2 separate regions of the Homo sapiens genome follow, and region 2 is linked to region 1. Evidence: promoter capture Hi-C in 16 types of primary human blood cells and fetal thymus (Javierre and others, 2016). All regions are on one chromosome and are shown on one strand. Each heading gives the region's core, a stretch centred on a gene start or on the middle of the fragment in contact. The rest is flanking DNA. Distances are from core to core; before and after follow the strand shown.

Region 1 (2,778 bases), core at 118-2,617:
GCTGATGTTATTGGTCTAGGACCATCCTTTGAGAACCACTGTGTAATACAAATGAATTATGGTTTTGACTTTATAGCCAAATTCATTGAGTTTTCCTCCAATGTTAGTCTCTTTCTTCCTCTAATGCTGTTATTTCCTTACCTTGCTTCACACCTAGCAATATCCGTTTACACATGTGAAAGACCAACTTAGTGAAGTATTTTGTTGACTGTTTACAATAGTAAGCAACGACTTCAGGTTAGCTTAATTAAGGAGAATAGGAAAAATATATGGTTTTTTTTTTTATAGGGAGATAAGAAGGAACTCTTTGGAATAAGAGGTGGGATTTCTGTTTTCCCCAAAGTCAATTAGATGTCAAATGCTACTTGTTACCAACTTTCCAAAATCCCATTAGAGACCTTGTAATTTGATCCAGAGAGAACAGCATTAAGAGTCAGGTAAAAGGAAAAACTGACTTCATTCTTCATTCCTTTCCTAAATCCTGAGAAATGTGTATACCTCAACACTCCCTTTTCCAATCCCGCAAAACAGGGAATCAGGAAAACACATTAGCACCCTAGTACAGACTAGGAATACAGAGCTGGGAGGAGACTCAGTGCCGTCAAGACAAGGAAACTGGGGGAGGGGAAGGAAAACTTCCCCTCGTTGGACAATCTGAGGGCTGCAGTGGGAAGAGAAGGGAAGTGGGGAAATGTACCTCAGACGTCGGCCAGACACTTTGCCTCTGGGCATGTGGGAAAGTGAGGGAGGAGGGAAAAGCGCTGCACCACAGCGAGATAGCAACAGCTCCTGCGGCTGCTTTTGAGTGAAGATCAGTAGAGATAGAGCGTGCCGCTTCACATCTTCCTCCCGGAGGCCATTTCTCCATTTTTATGTGGGATAAAAAGGGGGCGCTGGGCTGAGTCAGTATAAGCCAAAGTTGCCGCCTCTTGCGCAGCCGACCCCGCTTCGGCCCCGGCCCAGGCCAGAGAGGTGGCCCTCGGAGATGCTGAAGTTACTCCGCGCAGGGGGAGGGGTCGCCAGGCTCCTCTCCAATCACGGTGGCCGCTCCAGCTATTTGCATACATTATGCTAATAACAGACCTCCTGCCCCGCTCCCACCCAAGCTTCCCGCCTCCCTTGGGGGTTCCCCGGGCCGGCCCGCGGGCTGGGCCAAGGTGAATACATTATGATAATAAGGCGGGCTCCTGCTTTGCCTTCGGAAGGGGGGCGCGCAGCAGCGGGAGCGGCAGGCCGGACGCCGGGCGCCGGGAGGGGGTCGGGGGAGGGACGTCGTGCTCGGAGCGCGCGCGCACTCACACACTCACACACACACTCACGCGAGCATCGCGAAGGGTATTTAAGGATCGCGCACGCGGGGCTGCGGAGATCCTTCGGGCAGCCGCGACTTCGGCTTCGCGAGTAGCATTGGTTCCTTGGGTTTATTTCGTTTTCCTCTCTCTTCTCCACCTTAGTCGCCCCTTTCGCGCTGCGCTGTAGCGTGCTCTCACAGCCTTTTTGCCTTGAACTGAATGCAGGTGGGAAACAGGTCGGCGTGCCGAAAGACACCGAGTAGGTAGAAATAAGGCAAACTCACAGAGGCGCAACAGGTCCGGTCCTCCGTGGCCAGGGCGAGCCGCGGCCCCGCGTGGCGCCTCGGCCGTTGCCCTCGGACCCTGAGCGGCCACTGTTGGGGCCCTCGAAAGAGGTGTCGGTCCTCTGGGAGTCGGAAGAGCTGTCTGGGTGGGTTTCGTCTTGCTTTTTACCCCACCGCCACCCAGTCCCCGGACGGAGGGTGCTTTTCACTTCCAGCTGGGAGGAGAGAAGAAAGCGGGGATGGTGCACGCCTGCGGGTCTGGACGCTGAGCAAGGCAGGGGTCCGTATCCGCTCGTGGGCTTGACTCCACCAACTAGTTGTGCAGCCACAGGGACTGAACTTTGGAGGAATCGACCTTTTTCTTTCCTTTTAGGATTATTTGAGGTGTAGAGGGTGGGAAGCGAAGCCGAGACGGCCGACCCCGCCACGATGCTGCTGAAGAAGCACGCAGGGAAAGGAGGGGGCCGGGAGCCCAGATCCGAGGACCCGACCCCTGCCGAACAGCATTGTGCCCGGACCATGCCCCCGTGTGCCGTCCTGGCGGCCCTCCTGTCAGTGGTGGCCGTGGTGTCTTGCCTGTACCTGGGTGTGAAAACCAACGACCTCCAGGCGAGGATCGCCGCTCTCGAATCCGCCAAAGGGGCCCCTTCCATTCATCTGCTGCCTGATACCCTGGATCACCTCAAGACTATGGTGCAAGAGAAAGTGGAGCGACTTCTGGCTCAGGTGTGAGAGGCTGGGGTATTTTGCACGTGGGTAACATCTTGTACAAGCGTGACTCTGTGTGCATGACTAGCCGCTACCCTTACTGTACCCATACTTGGTGTGGCTGTGTGTGTGCGCGCGCGTGCATGTGTTGGCCAAGGATCTATGCTCACTGTAGCATATATTTATATGTGCACATCCCTTGATGTCCCCATCCCTATCTCTAATCTTCCCTCACTCTCTCTTAATGTTTGCGTGTTAAACACATAGGAAGGTCTAAAAGGGTTCGGAAAGGGCATTTTATCTCTTTTTAGTTGTCCTAAGTCAAACCCAATTGTGGAGAGAATATTTCTTGCAGAGATAGCATCTGTTAAATCTTTTACATGTTGTAAGATGGTTAGGGTCATAGATGTTATTAATATATAAAAAAGGTAATCACTCTTAAATGTAAAATAATGTCATATATAATTTAAAATCAATAATTTCACACGTTGAAT
Region 2 (2,778 bases), core at 112-2,611, 1.3 Mb after region 1:
AGAAACCAGTTATTTGGAAAGGAGGGAAAAGAGGTAAAAGGCGAGACCAGTGTGGGTAGGCAGCGGAGAGCCTTCTCTTTCCAGGTATGAGCACATCCACCTTCTCCAACAGCTTCCAAGGTAGGCCATTTAAATGCCAGGGTTTCCTTTTTAAAAAAAAAATGACATTGTTTTAAGGTCTTAAAATTTCAGTTTTCAAAGTTTCTTGCTTTTGGTCATTGGGGAAAATAATATAAACTATTCCCCATTACAGAAGGTAATGAAAAAAAGATCCTCTTCCAATAACAATGTGTGTGGCCAACACAAGCACTGTTCAACCACACAACCTGCACCACAAGCACCTGGAACCACAAAAACAGAGCAGGGACAGCCTGGGCCCAAGGCTGTGCCAGCTGTGGCTCCACACTCCCGTTAAGAAAAGAAAGTGTTATTTTAAAGATTAGTATTACAATCGTAATACCCCTTTTTGTAGAATGTTTGAAGGGCCATTCACCTGCAAAAAGGGGAAACTTGGGCACATTTGGTAAAATAAAGTGACATCAGAGCCCAGTTCCAGGTATCACCAGTCCAGGGCACTCTGGCACATTTTATCAGAAGGAGGAAATGATCTCTCCCCAGCAGACCTCTGCTTCTGCCTCTCCCAACAGGGTCAGGCTGACTTTGTTCCTAAAAGTCTCACACTGTCTTCAGAGAATACTAAACACATAGGACAGTCTTTTCATCCACAAACAAAATGTACTCTGGGCTGGGCACGGTGGCTCACACTTGTAATACCAGCACTTTAGGAGGCCGAGGCAGGTGGATCACTTGAAGTCAGGAGTTCGAGACGAGCCTGGCCAACATGCCCCGTCTCTACTAAAAATACAAAAATTAGCTGGGCATGGTAGCGCATGCCTGTAATCCCAGCCACTAGGGAGGCTGAGGCAGGAGAATTGCTTGAACCTGGGGGGCAGAGGTTTCAGTGAGCTTAAGATCATGCCACTGCACTCCAGCCTGGGCGACAGAGCGAGACTCCGTCTCAAAAAAAAAAAAAAAGTACTCTTACATGTTCCTGGAAACACTTGTCTTGAACCATCTTTTGTTTTTTTCATTCGGACACTCAGGTACCAAAAAAACTACTTTTCTCTTAAATGTTCTAAAAGAAAATCGACAACACAAGCACAGTGATTATTAGCAATGGCCCCAGACCCTAGTATAAAGAAGACAAGAGGGTTGGTGGGGATGGCAAAGGATTCAAGAGTCTGTACTTTGTCTAAAGGGGAAAGTCAGGACTTCGATCTGGCTGCCTGTGCGTCTGGTCATACTTTTCATTTGTGTGTCTTAGGCTGCTGCTAGAGAAGTCATGTTCTCTCCAGGATGCAACTGTTTCATCAGGGCTTCCAACCCGAAATGTATCACTTGACTATATTTTCTTCTCCCATTATAGGATCGAACTGTAAAATTTGTCAGTAAAGTACCTCTCAATACGGCTGCTTAAAAATTGTAGCAAGCATTCAATAATGGTGGTGATCTAAAACAAAAACAAACAGTGCCAAGAAAGGTGGAGAAGGTCAGCAGCAAAGTCACATCTTTGGTATGACTATGGGTCATGCCTTCTTTTCACACCTCATATCTGTTTTGCATCAATTCAGGTTAAAGAGCCTAGTGTAGTGCCTGATACACAGCAGGCACTCAGGAAATGTGAGCTAAATGAAATGAGTTTCCTAAACAACTCTGTACAATAGGTACCAGTGCTGCTGCTCCTATTTTACAAATGGGGGAAGCTAGTCTTAGAGAGTTAGAGCCAGAAAGGTCTAGGAAATTATTTACCCCAATCACCTCAACTTGCATTACAGATGACGAAACTGAGGACCTTTCCAAGGCTGGAGGTGGTGAGGGGGTCAGCACCAGGCCCAGGCCTCCTGACTTTCTCCAGTGATCCTTCTTCTGTACCAGACATGGACAATGGAGGGCAGTCAGGCCTTTCACTGTCACCAAGAGCGACCAATCTTTTCAATAAAGATCAAACTGCTTGACAAAACTCCCTTTTTTGGGGTGGCTGTTTATTATCCCAGAGGGCTCCCTGCTGGCCTGGGAGCCAGTCCCGGTACCACAAGTATATTCTGTTTTTGTCAGATGTCTCTGTAGCCTCTAGATGCCAGTGTGAAATGCACGAGGACACTGATTGGCAGTGATGGACAGATGACAGAAAGGCAAGTCTCTTCTCTTTGTCAGGGGCAGGGCCTCTCTGGCCACAAGGCCACCCATCTCTGAAGGTTAACATTCCGACAAGCTGGTATGCAAGTGACTCTCTTTAGCCACTGCCCACCGGAAGTGCCCTGAGAATTGCTTTTGTCATATAATCTTATTCTGCCATTCAATTCCAACCAAGAAGCATGAAAATATAGTCAAACAAGTCACTAGAAGAGCACTGATCAGTGGGTCAGGTGTCACACACTCGAAGGCTCTGGATCCCAAGGTACATTCTGCCAGGAAGAATTCCACCAGGAAGCCAGCCAGCTAAGAAGTCAATGCTCCTTTAACACTCCCAAGAGTACTTCGATTGAACCCAGATGAAGCTCAAAACAGGAAAGTCCTCTCTGTCTATAGGCATTCCCTTCAATTACACCATTCTGTTTGCTCCATCCAAAAAAGGAGGAAACACAGAACTGCTCTGAGGGTCCTTGGCAGACAGTTAAGGACACGTAGGGTACTCCTATGCCCGAGAGTGGAGCACAGAAGTACCCTACATGTCCTTAACTGTCTGCTGTCAGATGTCTCTGCAGCCTCTAGATGCCA

What was found. The method cuts DNA at HindIII sites, captures the fragments that hold promoters and counts their contacts. A CHiCAGO score of 5 or more calls a contact.
Region 2: a fragment that was not itself captured here is called in contact with the fragment with the promoter of COL25A1 in region 1 in 1 of 17 cell types (fetal thymus); the score reaches 5.6 in fetal thymus.

The regions. Positions count from the first base shown.
Region 1 is chr4:109,301,247-109,304,024 of GRCh38, reverse strand. COL25A1 (collagen type XXV alpha 1 chain) reads left to right here and starts at 1,367. Exons shown (of 38, transcript NM_198721.4): 1 at 1,367-1,856; 2 at 1,950-2,302. The coding sequence starts at 2,006. It overlaps COL25A1-DT (COL25A1 divergent transcript), which reads right to left and starts at 990. Exons shown (of 3, transcript NR_160939.1): 1 at 698-990. RefSeq lists an enhancer at 513-1,295. The HindIII fragment of the contact is 6,447 bases long and covers 1,109-2,778 here.
Region 2 is chr4:108,015,814-108,018,591 of GRCh38, reverse strand. The region is part of intron 3 of HADH (hydroxyacyl-CoA dehydrogenase); the gene reads right to left. Among named protein-coding and RNA genes, the nearest start is that of HADH, 27 kb to the right of the region's middle. The HindIII fragment of the contact is 3,162 bases long and covers 1-2,778 here.